4 separate regions of the Homo sapiens genome follow, and regions 1, 2 and 3 are each linked to region 4. Evidence: promoter capture Hi-C in 16 types of primary human blood cells and fetal thymus (Javierre and others, 2016). All regions are on one chromosome and are shown on one strand. Each heading gives the region's core, a stretch centred on a gene start or on the middle of the fragment in contact. The rest is flanking DNA. Distances are from core to core; before and after follow the strand shown. Region 1 overlaps SLC20A1 (solute carrier family 20 member 1). Region 2 overlaps MERTK (MER proto-oncogene, tyrosine kinase). Region 3 overlaps POLR1B (RNA polymerase I subunit B). Region 4 holds the start of ZC3H6 (zinc finger CCCH-type containing 6).

Evidence for each region. Contacts are between HindIII fragments. The CHiCAGO score rates a contact against its expected background, and 5 or more counts as called.
Region 1: a fragment that was not itself captured here is called in contact with the fragment with the promoter of ZC3H6 in region 4 in 2 of 17 cell types (fetal thymus and non-activated CD4 T cells); the score reaches 7.4 in fetal thymus.
Region 2: a contact is called between a fragment that was not itself captured here and the fragment with the promoter of ZC3H6 in region 4, in 1 of 17 cell types (fetal thymus). The highest score is 5.8, in fetal thymus.
Region 3: a fragment that was not itself captured here is called in contact with the fragment with the promoter of ZC3H6 in region 4 in 4 of 17 cell types (total B cells, activated CD4 T cells, neutrophils and 1 more); the score reaches 8.4 in total B cells.

What each region holds. Positions count from the first base shown.
Region 1 is chr2:112,647,260-112,652,371 of GRCh38, reverse strand. SLC20A1 (solute carrier family 20 member 1) reads right to left here. Exons shown (of 11, transcript NM_005415.5): 3 at 4,908-5,048; 4 at 4,634-4,719. Among named protein-coding and RNA genes, the nearest start is that of SLC20A1, 3.9 kb to the right of the region's middle. The HindIII fragment of the contact is 867 bases long and covers 2,906-3,772 here.
Region 2 is chr2:111,901,173-111,905,915 of GRCh38, reverse strand. The region is part of intron 1 of MERTK (MER proto-oncogene, tyrosine kinase); the gene reads right to left. Among named protein-coding and RNA genes, the nearest start is that of MERTK, 4.9 kb to the right of the region's middle. The HindIII fragment of the contact is 5,986 bases long and covers 1-4,743 here.
Region 3 is chr2:112,571,524-112,576,224 of GRCh38, reverse strand. It overlaps POLR1B (RNA polymerase I subunit B), which reads right to left. Exons shown (of 15, transcript NM_019014.6): 13 at 3,467-3,663; 14 at 2,410-2,663; 15 at 1-1,378. The coding sequence ends at 496. Among named protein-coding and RNA genes, the nearest start is that of CHCHD5, 11 kb to the left of the region's middle. The HindIII fragment of the contact is 4,253 bases long and covers 1-3,989 here.
Region 4 is chr2:112,274,347-112,279,335 of GRCh38, reverse strand. ZC3H6 (zinc finger CCCH-type containing 6) reads right to left here and starts at 3,739. Exons shown (of 12, transcript NM_198581.3): 1 at 3,310-3,739. The coding sequence starts at 3,341. RefSeq lists a silencer at 2,970-3,449 and enhancers at 3,640-3,849, 3,465-4,037. The HindIII fragment of the contact is 12,828 bases long and covers 2,090-4,989 here.

The DNA of each region.
Region 1 (5,112 bases), core at 2,090-4,589, 370 kb before region 4:
GCTATACTCTACGTTTGTAAGAGATGTCAAGAAATAGACTATGTTAGGATGTTGCTTACCTGACTTCATATCTTCAAAGACTAAAAATACAACATGCAGACTATGCGTACGCCAACCATCTTATCTAAACATCTGACAAAGATGCCACAATTAATGCTTTACCGAAGTTCAATGATAATAACTGATTGTGCACAAGGTCATCCACTCACTCAAAAGACTGTGTGCCAAGTGCTATTCTGGGCACCGAAATATAGGAGGGAATAAGACCAAGTTCCTGTTCTAATAGAACTGACACTCACCTTCTAGTATGGAATAATGTAAAGTACTGACAAATGCTGTGAAGAGAAATAAAGAAGGGTAAGAGGAGAGTGATGGAAGGGGGGGCACCATTTGGGTGGGGAGGGTCAAGGAATAAGCATGACATAAATGTAGTAAGCTAGCAAGCTGTGTACATTAACTATGGGTACAGAAGGGGCAAACCACCTGATTATTTGGGCGCTGAATGTTCCAGACAGAGATATCAGCAAATGCAAAGGCCCTAAGGCAAAAACTTGAAATGTTTAAGGAACAGTAAGGCCAGTGACTAAAAATAAGAATTCTACCATACCTAGTATGTATTAATTCTATAGGAGAACACCCAAGTCAAACACCGAAAGAATGGGAGGAGGCTGGGCGCGGTGGCTCACACCTGTAATCCCAGCACTTTGGGAGGCCGAGGCAGGACAATCATGAGGTCAGGAGATCGAGACCATCCTGGGTAATACGGTGAAACCCTGTCTCTACTAAAAATACCAAAAAAATTAGCCCGGATGTGGTGGCAAGCATCTGTAGTCCCAGCTACTCTGGAGGCTGACTCAGGAGAATCACTTGAACCTGGGAGACAGAGGTTGCAGTCAGTGGAGACTGGGCCACCTCACTCCAGCCTGGGCAACAGAGTAAGACTCCATCTCAGAAAAAAAAAAAAATTGGGAGCAAAGATCTGAATACATATATGGGAAGGCTAAAAACTTTATAAAGACCTTAGCCTAAAAGGTTTAATGTTATCTTGATCACAATTCCAGTGGAAAATCTTGGGGAGGAAAAACAGAAAGTAAAACCCTACAGCTTCCAACAATAATCAATACACTGGAAAGTTAGTAGCTTAAGACCAGTGAAACAAGGGAAAGCTCAGACCCATGTGTAAAGTAAAGGTACCATTTCAAATTAGCAGAGATGAGCACTCATTGAAAACCACTCTAAAATTTAACTCTTATCTATAGTTTAATAGAGAATGTTAACAGATAGTGAAATAGCCAAAACAAAAACAATAGCATACAGAAATCAAGAACTGTTAAGCATCCTTGAATAACTAACTCAACGGTGGTCAAACTCTGAGGGCAGTCAACAAGATTAGGAAACTAAGGTGTGTATTTTTATTCTAAAGACTAGTCTTAAGAAAATGCAGGTCAGGTGTGGTGGTGGCTCATGTCTGTCTGTAATCCTAGCACTTTGGGAGGATGAGGCAGGGGATGGCTTGAGCCCAGAAGTTCAAGACCAACTTAAGCAACAGAGCAAGACTCCACCTCTATAAAATATAAAAAGTTAGCCAGATGTGGTGGCACACACCCATAGTCCCAGCTACTCTGGAGGCTGAGGCAGGAGGATCACTTGAGCCTGGGAGGTCAAGGCTGCAGTGAGCTACAATTAAGTCACCGTACTCCAGCCTGGGTGACAGGCGAGACTTCGCTTAAGAAAAAAAAAAAGCCAGGTGCAGTGGCTCAAGCCTGTAATCCCAGCACTTTGGGAGGCCAAGACGGACAGAGCACCTGAGGTCAGGAGTTCAAGACCAGCTTGACCAACGTGGTGAAACCCCGTCTCTACCAAAAATACAAAAATACTAGCCGGGTGTGGTGGCGCCTGTAATCCCAGCTACTCAGGAGGCTGAGGCAGGAGAATTGCTTGAGCCCGAGAGGCGGAGGTTGCAGTAAGCCCAGATCGTGCCACTGCATTCCAGCCTGGGCAACAGAGTGAGACTCCGTCTCAAAAAAAAAAAAAAAAGGCTCCAAAAAACCCAACCCAAGACTCCCACCCCCAAAAATTTCCTGGGTTTTAAAGACATTATGTGGGGACTTCTCAATAGATTTTCAAAGATATTTCGTAATATGATTATCCATAAATCAAATTGTAATTGACTAGTCTGAAGTAGCAGCCTGTGTATTTATTATCCTGTATAGCATAGCCCAATTAAGTATTCCCTGAGGTAAACAAATCTGAGGTATTCTCTACGCAAAGTTGTTGGGGATGGGGTAGGGTATGAATGACACTACTATACCAATAGTTTATTGTGAAATACAGGTTCATGGTTAAAAAAAAATCAAAAGTTCCAGAGAGTCTAGGAAGAAGGTAAAACAAGAAAGGTCTCATCATTGTAGAGATCCACCTAACACACAAGTAAAACTTCACCTGGAAATAATGTGAATGCCTCATCGTCTAGTCATGTGGGACAGGAAAGGTCTTCACAAAACCCCCCATCTTCACCAGAATAGTTCACTTTTACATATTGGATATTCTGGTTTTGTCTAAAGAAAAGGGAAGACATCCTAAATATATTTCTAACTAATGAGAATGCCAAAAGCCCTATTTTCTTTGACTAGAATTTAAAAATACTCAACAGGAGCACTGAAGCATATTCCTTCTGTGCGATGCCAGTCCTAAATAGAAGTACCTCACCTCCATTCTGTCTGTTCCCACCTATCCCCAACATGCTTGGAACAAACATTCAGAGAATAGAAAATGTTTAAAAGCAATTTTTTGAAATTAAAAAAAAAGGTCATGTTAATCTTAATTTTCAAGATAGACATTTAAGAGTTGGAATATATCTTAATGGTCAAATATTCAGATTTTAGCAGTTAAGATACCAAAAGCTTACCAGTCTAAGGATATTTTCTTGAAATTTAACTCCTAAAAGGAAGCAGAAATATTCATACTCAACTGAAAACTCCTGTTACTGAGGGATTGGCCTGCAAGAGTGTGTGTGTGCACGTGCACAGAGTGGGGGAAGATCCTCAAAGTCAATATTGTTTTAAACACTATGCCAATCATTCTTCATCATTTGATCATGCCCATTCCCATACCCATATAGGAAATATACAATTAAGAAATCAGTTACCGTATCTAACTTCAGCCCTCAATAACACCGTGGGGGTATGCATTCCTCAAATGAGAGGTTCTGGGCACCTGAGAATCCCTCTTTGCACCTCAGAGCACCACCATTCCCCTTCCGGGGAATAAGTGTTTTGTGGAGGTGAAACACACAAACCCTCTCCAAAAACAAAATGATCTGCTACTCAATAATCAACACAGGGCCAGCATAAACCTTTACCAAGCAGGAATTCACAACAGGAGATCCTACTAATGCTTCTGACTCTCTGCTAAGTAGCAAGATATACAGTTCTAATGAAAACTCTAAAAAAAACAAAAAAATCTGGTCCATGACTACTGGTGAGCCTCTAATTTAAGCATCCCAGTATCATACACTACAGTTGTAGGGAGTGGGAAGGTAGATGCTTATCGTACCTGTCTGCTGAATAAAACAGTACCAAACTTAGGAGTCCATAAATATCAATGAACTGTTTACTCTCATATTATACCAGGCTAAAGATATTTCAAGTTTTCAAAGTGTTAAACTGCTATATTCTGCCAGATTCTGGCTATGGAAAACAGTGATTAGTGAATCACTTTACTAGTCATAGAATTTCTACAGAGAAGAGACAAATCTTTCCCTAGAGAAGCTTACAACTAGACCAGACAAGTGGGTCTGAATACATTCTTACCTGCTGGGATTTATGCTATCTCCCTCAGATTTCTACAGTTTAGGAACACTTTTAAGAACTTACAATGGATTGTTAAGAGCCATTCACCTTAGAAAAAGGACAACTTTGTTTCCTGAGAAAAATGCATTTATCCTCACTGTAACTCAGTCCTATGCCAACATAATCCCTTGTCAACATTTATTTTGCAGCCAGCAAGACTTCTTGATAAAAGAAATGCAAACTGGGTCACTTAAAAGGGATTTTCAAATGGACAGGAAATTAAATGGCTGCCTGAAGTTTTTTTGGGGGGCGGGCCAAAAACTACCTTTAACTGGTTCTTTTCAACTATTCTGAGAAATTGGAGTCAAGTCACTATGGGAGGCAGAGTCCTCATCTAGAAGCTTATAAACTGGTTATGATAATCAGCACGGCAGAGACCCATTTAACTGGCAGCTTAGTTAAAAAAGCCACAGGGGACACTGTCTTGAACTCCAAGTTTACGTATTATATTAGCCTGAATATAACAGTGGTTTAAACAAATAATGTGTATACAGCTACACAAAACCACGCAAAATAAATTTCCTTATTTTTTTGCTCCCAGTTTCTCCTACTTCTTGGCACATCATAGTATTCAATTTTTCCTTCCTGACTGCCCTCTTGAGTATTAAAAACTCGCTTTCAGAGAACTCCACAACATACAAGAAATGCACAGAACAAAGAGCTTTTTAAAATTTTCCAAGGCCGCATACCTATACACCAATCACATCTGCAAAAGTACCACTGGGTTTGAAATCGATTGGGTGTGCTCCATGAAAGGTCTTCATACGGGGGAGAAAGGTTACCTTATGGAGGATGAATGCACGAACCAGGAAGAATAAAATTCCAGACATAATTCCAGAAAGCAGTGGGGACACGAACCAAGACATCACTGGAATAGAACACATTAAGAAAAAATATCAAATAATGAAAATCAGAAACCAAAAACCACTTTAAATGTTTAAGAGTTCAAAATTCTTGGGTCTGTCCCTCGACGTTAGAACACATCCTCCCATACCTAATGCCATGGTAACATATGACGAAAACGAAAATTAAGAAGCCGTTTGGAATTAAACATACCAATTTTTATCAGTTCAGACCACTTGACACCCTCCTGCCCCTTTGCCACGAGGGAGAAACCAATAGTTGCACCAACAATACAATGGGTTCCAGAAATAGGGAGCTTCAAAAACGAAGCCACGAGTTGCCACACAGCAGAACCTGAAACATAGTAAAGTTTTATTAAGTAAATATCAAAATTCCATTATGTAAGTGGCACATTCAG
Region 2 (4,743 bases), core at 903-3,402, 370 kb after region 4:
TTCTCTTTCCTTCTGCCCCTTCTCCCTGCCTGCCACCTCCAAGACTCATGGAAAATCCATTTACCATTGAGTGAAAGAAGCACTGATAATTGAAGAACTAGCCAAGAAGGATGAAATAAAATGCTTTAGAATTGAGTGTAGGTTTCTGGCTGGGCACGGTGGCTCACGCCTATAATCCCAGCACTTTGGGAGGCTGAGGTGGGCCAATCACCTGAGGCCAGGAGTTCGAGACCAGCCAGGCCAACATTGTGAAACGTTGTCTCTACTAAAAAATACAAAAATTAGCTGGGTGTGGTAATGGGTGCCTGTAATCCCAGCTACTCGGGAGGCTGAGACAGGAGAACCGCTTGAACCCAGGAGGTTGAACCCTGGGTTCAATCGCTTGAACCCAGGAGGCTGCAGTAAGCTGAGATCGCGCCACTGCACTCCAGCCTGGGTGACAGAGTGAGCCTCCATGTCAAAAAAAAAAAAAAAAAAAAAAAGAACAGTGTAGGTTTCTCAATGAAATGTTTGAGACATAATCACCCTTTCTTCTTTATCACTCTGAAACACCAGGACCTGAGGAGGTGACCTGGCCATAGCAGCCCAGGGTTTCACATGCCGGCCATGTCCCTAGATCCTAGTGCCTGTCAGAGGCCCCGAGAGTGAAAATGTGGCAGCTCCCATGAAGGGATGGCTGTCCAGCTGCAGAGTCTCACAAAACTAGGGAAGATCTAGGCCCTCCCTTCCTGTGGCTAAGAATCACCCAGTTCAACAGCCATGGTTCAGACAGAGAAAAGTAAGGCCTAGGAGGGAGGAAGTGCCAGGATGGCAGGTATTCTTAGTATCCTTGTTCTCCAAAAGGGGCCTGCTGATCCTAATGGAATTCTCTGCCCCTGCCAGGCTGCATTTTTAGCACTTCGGCTGGAGGCAGGAGTGGGAGACATAGAATGAAAAGAGAGGGAACTGGTTTAACTCCGGTCACGGGTTAGCCAATGCCCAGAGTGCCAGAGGGAGAGTAATCAGGGCTCCCTCCCGGGCACCTGAGGGTTGGCTCACCCATGCCATTAAGCAGGAAGTACCAGAAGCCAGGAGTGCACCTGGCGCCCTTTGCATTTCCTACAAGACCACCTGCGGACACATACTCACGCCTGTACACGGAATCTACTCTAAGAACCAAAGCCTCATTTTCTCTATGTTGCAGCCAACTGACCTCATTGGGAAAACCTAGCTCGATGTGGTAAAAAGGAAAAGAATTTTCTGAGCTGGGTGAGGTGGTTCACTCCTGTAATCCCAGCACTTTGAGAGGCCGAGGTGGGTGGATCGCGAGGTCAGGAGTTCAAGACCAGCCTGCCCAACACGGTGAAACCCCGTCTCTACTTAAAATACAAAAATTAGCCAGGTCTGGTGGAGGGCACCTGTAATCCCAGCTACTTGGGAGGCTGAGGCAGAGAATTGCTTGAAGCCAGGAGGCGGAGGTTGCAGTGAGCCGAGATCGCGCCACATGCACTCCAGCCTGGGCGACAGAGCAAGATTCCATCTCAAAAAAAAAAAAAAGAATTTTCTGGATGTTCACACTCAAAAACCCTAAAACAAAACAAACACAAAAAATAAAAATAAAAAAATTTAAACCACACCCAGTTTGGAAAAGAGTTATGTGGGAAAAGTTGAACAGGAACTGGACTTCATTTTTATACCTTCCTGAGAGGCACATGACAAGAAGCTATTCCTGTACTATGTCAAGTTTGAACTCCATAAGGGAAGGTATGGGGGCAGGAGTAGGAGGGGAATGGCAGTCAGGGCGGGCCCTGCTTCTCTGGAGAACTGCTTGGTCCTGGGTGGGTTTTGCTCAAACTACTAGGAAACAAAAACCTAAAGAGCTGCAGCAAAGGACTTGGGCACTCTAGGGCGACACCGGAGGGCCCCTTCACCAAAGCATTCTGAACAATGGAGGGTGGACCATTCAGGATACACTTCAATAAGAAAAGAACCCTCCTCCCAACACCTTTTGTCTAGGAAAAACATTTCCCCCATACTTGAGTTCAGAAGAATGGAGGAGAACCATTGGTAATAATGGCAAATATATTTTAAGCACATATCACCTGCCATTAGCTCATTACGTCCTCCTAACAATTCTATGAAAAGAGCCTCCCACTGTACCCAAAAAGGAACAGAGGTCCTGAAAGTTAATCACCACCCCCAAAGCCCCAGAAGCCAGTCCCGGTTAACACTTTCATTCCAGTCCCCAGAGGCATAGTGTGCCTCACACAGTGTGAGACCCCTTTCAGTTTTTATAATAATTAATCTCCTGCTGAGAAACATACCAATTCAGAGCCATGTGCTTTGGGTTAAGATTAAACTAACGGCAAGGGCCAAAGTCAAGGCACCCAGGGCTACCTGCCCCTGAGCAAGGAGTTGTTAGAACTGTGTTTAACATGAAAAATTACCTTCTGACATTTTTTTTTCTAGTTGGAATAGTTAGGACAATGTAAAATATGTTTGGGGTTAATACAGCCCAAAAATCTGTCTGGTTTTAATTGACTAGCTCCTCCAGCAATGAAATCACATTGGCATCACAGCAAAATAAAAGATTGTTTTCTATTAACCAAGCCCCGAATGTGAGGGCATGGGAGCTCCAGCAATTCTGTTTCTGGAAAAGCCAGTAGGAAAAGATAAGGGTGAAGAGCACCTGGTAAGACATGCAGGGGCTTGGTTCCTTCATGCTGTGCTCTGATACTCACTGAGCACCCGTATGAGCTCCATGCTGTGTTAGCAGTGAAAAAGACAGCAGCCCTGCCACCAGGAGCTTACCTTGTGGTGGGGGGACAGTGGAGGAAAAGGAGTAAACAAAGAGGTAAGGCTGGGTGCCATAGCTCACGCCTGTAATCTCTGCACTTTGGGAGGCTGAGGTAGGCGGATCACCTGAGGTCAGGAGTTCGAGACCAGCCTGGCCAACATGGTGAAACCCTGTCTCTACTAAAAATACAAAAATTAGCCAGCTGTGGTGGCAGGTGCCTGTAATCCCAGCTACTGGGAAGGCTGAGGCAGGAGAATTGCTTGAACCTGGGAGGCGGAGGTTGCAGTGAGCAGAGAATTTGCCATTGCAAGACTCTGTCAATAAAGAAATAGAGGGAGGGAGGGAGGGAGGAAGGAAGGAAGGAAGGAAGGAACTGATCAGGTTGTGAGAAGCATTATCAGGAAATTAAATTTAAGGGATAGTGGGGTGTATGCATATGATACTTTGGCAGGGGGTGGTTATTGGGGAAGGCTTCTCAAGGAGAACCTCTGAACTGAAACCCAAAGGATGAGAAGAAGCCAGCATGCCGAGATCTTGGGAAAAAGGTTCCAGCCAGAGGGAAGAGTCACTGCAAAGGCTGCTCAGGCCCTAGAAAGAAGACACAGGTGGCTGGAGTGGTAGGAACAAGAGGGAAGTGAATGGAAATGGGTCAAAGAGGTTCGCTGTGAGTCTCTGCAAATTCTAGTAGGGAACAGGAAGCCACTGGAAGATTTTCAAATGGAAAATACAATCAGATTCGTTTCCAAAATCTCATTCTGGCTATTATATGGAAAGCGACTGTTTCACATGTGTGTTCAAGGTCCCAGCTCAGTTTTTCTACCCAGCAGCATGTTCCCAATTCACAGGCATAAAAAGATTGAACCTCTTCTTGACCAATGCTGACTAGTAACTCACTGGCCCTTCTACAATTATCTGGAAATTATTTCAAAAATTAAGATTTAAAAATATAATTATTGGCTGGGTGTGGTGGCTCATGCCTGTAATCCCAGCACTTTGGGAGGCCAAGGCAGGCAGATCACCTGAGGTTGGGAGTTCGAGACCAACCTAACCAACACGGAGAAACCCTGTCTCTACCAAAAATACAAAATTAGCCAGGCGTGGTGGTGCATGCCTGTAATCCCAGCTACTCAGGAGGCTGAGGCAGGAGAACTGCTTGAACCCGGGAGGCGGGAAGTTGCGGTGAGCCGAGATTGTGCCATTGCACTCTAGCCTGGACAGCAAGAGTGAAACTCTATCTCAAAAACAAAAAAACATAATTATTGTTAATTTTTTAAAAATTGTATTCAGCTGTGCATGGTGGCTCATGCCTATAATCCCCACACTCTGAGAGGCTAAGGTGGGAAGATCGCTTGAGCCCAGGAGTTCAAGACCAGCCTGGGCAACATAGTGAGATCCTGTCTCTACAAAAAATAAAAAATTAGCCAGGCATGGTGGTATGTGCCTGTGGTCATAGCTACTTGGGAGGCTGAGGTGGGAGGATCACTTGAGCCCGGAAGGTTGAGGTTGCAGTGAGCCGTGATGGTGCCACTGCACTCTAGCCTGGGTGGCAGAATGAGAACCTGCCAAAAAAAAAAAAAAAAGAAAGAAAGAAAAGAAAAGAATTCCACTCAGCACTTTAATGGGTCAGAATAATTTTCTAAAAGTATTCATTTTTAAAATATGCACGATGTACTTTCAAAAAGCATTTGAAGCCTTTGGAATAAAGCCCACAAGCAACAGAACAACTTAAAAGTTCCCTCTGGGAAGATGTTTACAATATACTGGAATACATGTTACAATATCAGTTTGGAAAAGAAATATTAACATTAAAGAATCTTAAAAGCCTAATTTACTCTAAGGGTTGAGTTTAGCTGCACACACAGCCTCGTCATGAGCTAAGTCCTCATAATGCATTCATTTTTATCCACATTTATATTTATCTTGCTCCATCCTCTCCCTGGCCCTTCAGAGAGCCACCGCTTGCCTCA
Region 3 (4,701 bases), core at 614-3,113, 300 kb before region 4:
ATCAAATTGTATTCATTAAATATGTAACAACTGTACTTCTATAAAGCTGGTAAAAAACACTGTACCTGTTTGTTTTTACTTCAACGTGGCTATAAGAAAATATAAAATTACATTACAGCTTGCATTCTATTTGTATAGTACTGTCCTGCTCAAGATGGATTAACAGGTGTGTGACACTCACTGCCTGCTGAGAGCAGGGTGTAGGGAACCTGGGGTTGGAAAGGAGACTTGTCACCGTATGCTCTTCCATTTATCAATATTTCATATTTTGAGAAGACATGAACTTTTTGAACAAAGATAACAGAAAATCATTGTCAATAGTTAATCTACCAGAGAGATTCAGAAACCTTGCATACTTGGTTTTCAGGTCTTGGTTGAGAGTTCTAACACCGTTGAAAAATCTCAAGAGTAACCTGGTAATGATATCTTCATTGAATTAAAATTACATTTTGCTTTAATCTGATAGTCCTCTTAATCCAAAAGGTCAACATCAAGTTAAACAACATCCAGTTTCACTTTGATGTTCATAGCTGCCAGTTCAGCTACAAAATACCGAAAAACATAAGGCACAGAAACAGTATCGATAGTGTCACTGCGACTACACAGAGTACAGTTGTATTTTCTGTTGCGCATGGCAGACCAAGAAGGGGGTGGCTTCTCCAACAGTGGAGAGAGTAAACTGCCACACTTCACACACACATGGGCTACCGACCGATCTGAGCAGTTGAAGAGGCGGTCATGAAGGAGAAAAGATGTACCATGAGCTAAAAGCGCATCCCGTTCCATCTCCCCAAAACGGATTCCACCCTGGACATTTCTTCCCCCAATAGGCTGGTTGGTGACTCTGTCTCGGGCTCCAGTTGTCCTTACTTGAAATTTGTCTGAGACCATATGGCGTAAGCGCTGATAATAAACCACTCCTATGAAGATGTCTGCTTCCAGTTCTAGCCCACTGATGCCACTATATAACCTCTCGGTGCCATAGAAATTGTAGCCAGCAGCCTTTAACATCTCACCAAAGTATTCTAAGGCCGAGTTCTCCTCTGAGAAGATGAAGGGTGTAGCATCATGGCAGAGACCATGCAAAGCTGCAGACTTCCCGGCCATACTCTCAATTAACATCCCAATGGTCATGCGGGATGGAAAACCATGGGGATTGAACAGAATGTCTGGGACCATCCCACTCTCAGTAAAAGGCATGTCCTCAGCCGGCCACAATCTGCTTAAAATGCCCTTCTGCCCATGGCGACTGGCAAATTTATCTCCGATAGTTGGGTTCCGAGGCACTCTCATAGTGATGCAAACACACTTGAATTTTCCACTCCCAGTGTCATTACTGCACACTTTGATGTTATCCACAACACAATTTTCTTTACTCCTAGGAAAAAGTAAACCATATAAGGTCAACCTATTTGTTTTAACTTATGGAGATAAGTTTCATTGATATAATTAGTGCTTCATAAAGGATATTTGTAAAACTTTTTTTTTTTTTTTTTTTTTTATGATACAGGGTCTCACTCTGTTGCCCAGGCTGGAGTGCGGTGGTGCAATTACAGCTCACTGCAGCCTTGACTTTCCGGGTTCAAGCAATCCTCCCACCTCAGCCTCCTGAGTAGCTGGGACTACAGGTATATGCCACTAGGCCTGGCTAGTCTTTAAATTTTTTTTGTAGAGATAGGGCCCCACTACATTGCCCAGACTGATCATGAACTCCTGTGCTTAAGGAATCCTCCTGTTTTGGTCTCCCAAAGTGTTGGGATTGCAGGTGTGAACTACTGTGCCTGGCCTGCAAAACTCATTCTTACCTTTATTCTCCAATACAAACAGAGATGGTATGAATAGAGCTATTGGTGATATTCACTACAGAATTATGTTCATCTGAAAGAAAACTAGCAACAAAAGCAACTGAAAAATTATTATGAAAGCCTATTGAAATAAATTATATTGTAAAATAAGCTAAAATAAGACATTTCTAATAAGAGGTATGAGCTCAACATTTTGGCTAGGAAACATTGCTAACATTGTATGTGAGAAAGATGACAAAGTTTGGATAATACAGTTTTTAAAAAAAGCACAAATAGGCCAGGGATGGTGGCTCAGGCCTGTAATCCTAGCACTTTGGGAGGCTGAAGCAGGTGGATCACTTGAGCCCAGGAGTTCGAGACCTACCTGGGCAACATGGTGAAACCGTCTATACTAAAAATACAAAAAATTAGCTGGGCATGGTGGTCCATGCCTGGAGTCCCAGCTACTCAAAGGCTGAGGCGAGAGGATTGCTTGAGCCCGGGAGGTGGTGGTTGTAGTGAGCTGAGATCACTCCACTGCACTCCAGCCCGGCTGACACACTGAGACCCTGTCTCAAAACAAAAACAAAAACAAAAACAAAACAGCTTGGATACCCAAACTTACTTATAGTACATCACAAAACTTTCCCCGGTGTTGAGGTTGAGGTAGCTGTAATACGGATCTCCGTACTGCAGTTTTGCTCCTATAAACGGCAATCCATCGTCATCTAACTTCTGCAGAACGCGTGGGTCACCAGGTTTGATGCCAAACACCAGGCTACTATCTCCTTGTTTAATTTTTTCAGAGAGGTCTATGAACTCAGACTTGTAGACACTTCCATGGGCAAAGCCTCGTTCCCAAGAGGCCTTATTCACAATCTGTGAAGTAAAAGAATCGTTAAAAGACTGAGGCCAATTGAGGATTTTCAAAATAAAACTAGGTGGGACTATCATACTTGGTTTAGGATAACTGGCATCACATTTTAACTTTCCTCACATTTTCCAAATCACTGATACTAACTACAAAAACCCAGACATGGCTGGGCACGGTGGCTCACGCCTGTAATTCCAGCACTTTGGGAGGCCAAGGCAGGTGGATCACTTGAGGTCAGGAGTTCGAGACCAGCCTGGCCAACATGGTGAAACCCCATCTCTACTAAAAACACGAAAATTAGCCAGGCATGGTGATGGGTGCCTGTAGTCCCAGCTATTCGAGAGGCTGAGGCAGGAGAACTGCTTGAACCCAGAAGGTGGAGGTTGCAGTGAGCCAAGATCGTGCCACTGCACTCCAGCCTGGGCAACAGAGCGAGACTCCGTCTCAAAAATAAAAAACAAAAAACAAACAAACAAAAAACAAGAAAAACAAAAACCCAGGCACACAGAAATAGCTTAAAATCTAATCATACTTAAATATAAAAGGTAGATAGATCCAAAACCAAACTTCAAAATTTACTCATAATATGCACTCAAATATGCAAGACATACGTGTATCTGAATATTTAGTGGATATTCCTCAAGGCTTGCCCACTTTCAACTTAGACTAAGAACTAATCATTTAATAGAACATCACGTGCCAAATACTAGGTACTTGGGTACACAAAAATATTCCTTCAGTGATTTCACAGTAAACAAACAAGTTAAAAAATAAAAAGATTGGAACAACATTTCCTGGTAAAACTTACCATGGCATCTTCCATATCATAGCCAGTGTAAGAAATCACAGCAACGATGGCATTGGTCCCAATTGGATAGTTATCCATGTCATAATAATCATACATGGAGGGTCTCACCAAGGGACTCTGAGGAGTCTGAAGACGATACAGTTTGTTATCCGATCGGTCTTGATAAGTGAGAAGTGGAAAGCCCATAGTTTGCTTACCTACATGGAGAAAAAACATCTTAGCATTTTCTGCTGCTTTCATCTTGATTATAGGTGTGATACGCAACACTGGAAACAACTAAATATCCATCAGAGGAAAATGAACAAATAAATAGTCATGGTAGTTATGCTTACTTTAGACTAATACATAAGCTGTGAAAATGAAGTAAACCTAAATGTATCAACGTGACCAGACCAGGAAAACCATGCTGAGTGGGAGAAAGTGCAGACTGACATTTAATATGATACGATTTATGTGTATTTGCAACACACCCCAAACAATTCTATACTTAGTTTATGGATACATGTATGATGTAATAAAAGCTTTAGAAGGGGACAGAAAGGAAGTACGCAAATTACAGGCTATCACTACTCGGGGAAGAAAAGGGGATAGGAATTATTACGTAATTAGATTACTTTCTTACAGCGGAATATGTATTTAATTCTAAGTAGTGGAGCATGGGGTGAGATTCCTCTGTGTACTACCTCACAGTACAGAGAATCATTTCACGACAAAATGATTTTAAAATATAAATACATACAAGTGAAATTTTTAAAAAAATTATAGACTTAGAGCTTCCAGTAATAAAGGGCTACTCTTACTAGACCACCCTCAACACATAAGTATGAGACGCAGACCCCCAACTACACATACAGCACTGGAGAGTAACCAAAAGCTGTCAGAAGCTGAGAAGAATTTTTACTTGGACAAAAGGAACACACTGGGTGAATTTCCAGGTTTTTAAGTATTTATGTATTTATTTTTGCCTTATGGCCCAGTGTGGCAGCTACAACTTAGATAGAAACCCACAATCTTACTGGCTTGAAGAACCAAGAAATAGAGTTCTGAGCATGACAACAATTGGGAAGGGGGAACATTTCAGAAATGAGAGAACCACAAAGGGAGACCCTTAAATTCAGCATATAAATTGGGTCCGAATCTTTGGTGGACTCCTGAACTATGCATGCATGGGACAGATCACAGCAGCCCACCTAAGGCTGAAGAATGTACTTCAACTGCCACGTTCACCAAGTTAA
Region 4 (4,989 bases), core at 2,490-4,989:
CAGATGTGTCCAAAGCAGGGACTCATAGTATTTCGTCTTCAGGAGTTGTGAATTGTTTTAATTGGGTCAACATCCAGTTGAAATATAAAACTGAGCGGCTGGAGTCGTGCCTGAGAGAACTGAATGAAAAAGAACTGAACGACGAGAGACCAGAATTATACCTCCCTCTGATTTCCCTAAATCCCTAAAGACCTTTAGAAACTAGGCTCTGGGCTTATGCAAAAGTCCTCTACTACATTCTACATAGCCACAAGTAGAATTAGAAGTATTTTTATATTAATAACATCTTATAAAATACAATGTTTTAACTCCAGGTGTGAAAATATTTAAAGGAAAGTACACTAAATGGATTTTTTTTAAATTATTCATTTGGCAAACAATCTTGTGCAAAATGTTCACTATATAACATGTACAAGGCCAGGCGTGGTGGCTCACGCCTGTAATCCCAACACTCTGGGAGGCTGAAATGGGAGGATGGCTGGAGCCCAGGAGTTCAAGACCAGCCTAGGCATATAGCGAGACTCTATTTCTTTAAACGAGAAAAAAATTATGCATTCTGTGAATTCCATTTACATTTAGAATCTCATTCTCATAAACAGTAATATTTTAATTTGTATAAAATCAAAGCAATTGTAAATATAAATCATAGGCTTCATTTTTTTTCCTGCATACACAATATGCCTTAATTTTTGAAAATGTTATAAAAAGAATATCCTTGGCTGGGCACAGTGGCTCACCCCTGTAATCCCAAAACTTTGGGAGGCCAAGGCTGGTGGATCACTTGAGGTCAGGAGTTCAAGACCAGCCTGTCCAACATGATGAAACGTGGTCTCTACTAAAAATACAAAAAATTAGCCAGGTGTGGTGGCGGGTGCCTGTAATCCCAGCTACTCAGGAGGCTGAGGCAGGAGAATGGTGTGAAGGCGGGAAGTGGAGCTTGCAGTGAGCTGAGACAGTGCCACTGCACTCCAGCCTGGGCGACAGAGCGAGACTCCGTCTCAAAAAAATAAAATAAATAAAATAAAATCCTTGAGACAAAGCCTAGCTCCATATACCAAGTTTCATATATTTTTCTCCACTTAATTCACAGAAACTTTTATAACAGCATAAAATAGCTATTATATGGAAAGATACAGTATTTTGGAAGCCCGCAGATTAGTCCATTTTTTCCCCAAATTTCTTAAGAATTTCCCAGGGAGCCTATGAAAAATACCCTAGAGATTCTGATTCAGTTGCTCTGGGCAGAACAAAAATTTATTCCCCAAAGTGATTCTGATGATTAACTATCATTGGGAAACACTGATCGAGTATAGCGGTTCTCAATTTGGCACATATTAGAATTTCCTGGGGAGCTTTTAGAACTCTTAAAACCCAGGCTGAGGTCCAGACCAACAGAAATAGCGCCAATACTTTAAAGAAAAAAAGTTCCCCAGGGAAGGTTTAGAACCATTGATCTGATCTTGTAGAATTTCTCCTGACTTCTAGTTCACTTTGTTTTTGATGTAGTTGTTTTGTTTTTCATGTGGGTTGACAAAAAAAGCATGAAAAAAAAAAACCATCTCCTTCATCTCAGCACAATGATGCCACTTAACAATTGGCTAAGTTAAAGTGGAGCTAACCTTTTTGTTTCAGAAATCACTAGAAAATACTTTTAGTCCGAATTTTAAATAAAATAGACTAATCTTAATCTTTAGCTCCTACTACCAACCTATTAACATATCTTACAAATAATTCTTTAAAGTTTTCTAACCTCTAAACCAGTATTTTAAAATTTCAAATTCTTTAAAAGGTCTGTCATCACAGTTCCTTACCAGCAAAATTATTTTGATACTTGAATTTGATGGCATTGTTTTTTCATGATGTACAATACATAACTCCATATATAGAAGTTACTTTGTGCACTAAGAGAGGGGAACAGATATTCTTCCATATTAAAAAAAAAAAGGATTTTAGGCTCCATTAGCAAAACCCCATCATTGGTTTGTCCATACCTCAAGAGCAAGGTATTAGTCAACCCATTCTAAGAATTTCCTTTTTAATACAAAAGATAACGTTAAAAAAATCATTAAAAATGTGCCAAGTGCAAGCTTATCATTTTTAAAAGTGCATTTTACTTTCCAAAAATTTTTACACTTTGATTGACGTGCCCTCTGGGAATCTACTTTTATTATTACAATACTGAAGTTGTTGAAATACCATTTTTATCCCTCTCAAGATTGCTAGGTATTTAGATATTTCAAATTTCAGCAGTGTTTGTGATTTTTGCTTCTGGGTTTTAAAAAACGTGTTTAGGATGCTTTACCAAGCCGATCACATTACTACAGATAAAACTTCAGCAATGTATATAGTCTATAGTAAAACGTATATTTTTTCTTACTTCTATTCACAAAGGAGTAATTGTGAGGTTCTAGATTTTCAAATTAATATTCTAAGTAAGAATCAGATGCAATGGATTTTGTTTCAGTAAGTTTAATGAATGAAAGCCCCCCTTTCGCATTATTAAAGATATATACGAATGAAAATTTGAATTATAACCAAAATTTAAGTATGCTACAGTATACTTTGTAAATGTCCCCAAACTCGAATGGAAACAAGAATGTGCCTCTTAAGGCACAGAGCAAAAAATAAAAAATCAGAATCTCAATATTCAAGTGATACACACCATCTAGAAAATTGGGCTAGCCGGAATAATCCATGGAGTTTTTACGTTAGGGTAAAACTGTGCTAAACTAAGTTTCTGCAAAGCCTAAGTATTTTGTGTTAACATATTAAACTTGAAACTTGCCATCTCAAATTCCAAGGGATAAGACTGTATACAACAGATGGCCTTTTGGTGCTGCTTAAAACTTCCCTGAAAACCAAATGTTTATTTTTTTAGAGGTGTTCTCGGTTCTCGGGAAGCAGTCAAATATCAAAACACCCATTCCTGAAAATTCCTGGCTGGTCCTATCTGGCCGGGAGCACCGACACCTGGACGGGCAGAAGCAGGACCTCAGCACCGAGCCGGGACGCTGAGAGCCGCCCGGCGCACACGGAGCCCGCCCGGGGGGCGGGGGGCTCGCACGTGCCCGGCCGGGGGCGGGGCCGGCGCTGGCGAGCAGCGACCCCGGCTCGGGGAGGCGGGCGCGGCCGGGCCGACCTCCCCCGCGGCCGCGATCCAGCAGTTTACATAAGAGTGCGCGTCATGGAACTGACGGAGCCACACAGAGACGTCTAGGTCATGCAGGAGGCGCCCGGCCCCGGCCCGCTCCCGCCGCCCCAGACCCCTCCTCTCATCCGACAGAAAGACAGACAAGAAGGGTTCCCGACCTGTCGTGCCCTGCATGTTCAGAGTCTGTCATGTTTGGTCAAGAACGGGGCGGGGCTGGAGGGCAGGTCTGCGAGGCCGGCGGCGGCGGGGCGCGGGGAAGACCCCCCGCGCCGCCTGCGGGAACCTGCTCCCGGCCGCCGCCGACAGGTGACGAAGTGGTAAAAACTCACGGTTACTAGTGAGCGACACAGACACAGACTTTCCAGTCTATTAACAACCACGCCAGAGAGATGGGGCTCTAACTGCAAACACTGGGCAACGGCCCCGCGCTGCCGGCGCTGCCGCTCTAGTCTCTATTCGCCGCCGGTGGCTGTGGCGTGGGAGCGGGCGGGCGGCGTGCAGCGACGCGGGGATTTGGACAGTGGCCGTAACGGTGATTTCTCCTCACCAACATGGCGGCACCCGAAACAGGCGGCTCGAGAAAATGGCGCCGGCCGCAACACCTTGCCCGGGACTAAAGGGCAAGAGAGATTCCTCCGCGAGCCGCGGCCCTTGCCCAGCCCGCCGGGGCCGAGCGCGTTGACCATTGGAGGAGAGTGCCCGTCAATCACCTGCAGGGGCGGGTCTTCGCCCTTCTCTGTGCAGCGGCGGAGGCGGCAGCCTAGTGGCGGGGCCGGGCGGCGAGAGACGCGGCCGGATGGCTCCTCGAGTGTCTGCAGGAGGGGGAGGCAGCCCACGGGACCTACGAGGGCCACCAGCGCTTCTGCTCCCGGCGCAGTACGGGCCGCGGTTTTTCCTGCGAGACGCCCGCCGCCCGAGGAGTTCCAGACGCACCAAGCAAACGGGCCCCAAAACCGTTAGCCGAGGCGGGCAGGGGTGGGATAACAAAGAACAAGGCGGCTGTAGAGTCCTTAAATTTTTTTGTGAAAACCTTTGTTCTTGTAATAATAGGGAAATGCAGTTTCTCCTTCACAGTTGTAGCAAGTATCTGTTTTTGTAACGTTTAGTGTTCAGAATCATGTTTTAAGGAAAATAGCTTGCCATGCAGTTTTTTCTTGTATTTGCTGTTAAATTTACCCAATTATTACTTAAATAGGAATAGCTATTGAAATAATTATATAAACGTTACTTTATTTCGTAATAATATTAACATGTAAAATGTATGCGAGTATTTTATAAATACTATTAGGCATGCCTTTTTTTTTTTTTTTTTTTTTTTTTTTTTTTTTTTTTTCTGAGATGGAGTCTCCTCTGTCGCCCAGGCTGGAGTGCAGTGTCGCGCTCTCGGCTCACTGCAACCTCTGCCTCCTGGGTTCAAGCAATTTTCCTGCCTCAGCCTCCCGAGTAGCTGGGACTGCAGGCACGCGCCACCACGCCTGGCTAATTTTTGTATTTTTAGTAGAGATGGGGTTTCCCCATTTTGGCCAGGCTGGTCTCGAACTCCTGACTTCAGGTGATCCGCCCTCCTGGGTCTCCCAAAGTGCTGGGGTTACAGCCGTGAGCCACCGCGCCCGACCATGCATGAGTTTTTTATACTTATGAAGTGACCTTAAAAAATTTTTAAATGACAAGTCAGTGTTTTGGCCTATTTAATATATTAGTCCTGAAGGAAAGTTCCTTGCTTTTTACTAAAATGATAGACTCAATGATTAATCCAAATATCTGACTTAATTTGTCTTTCCTTAATAATACATTTTACTAATACATAAATGGAATGCATTCAAAAACAATTGCAATGA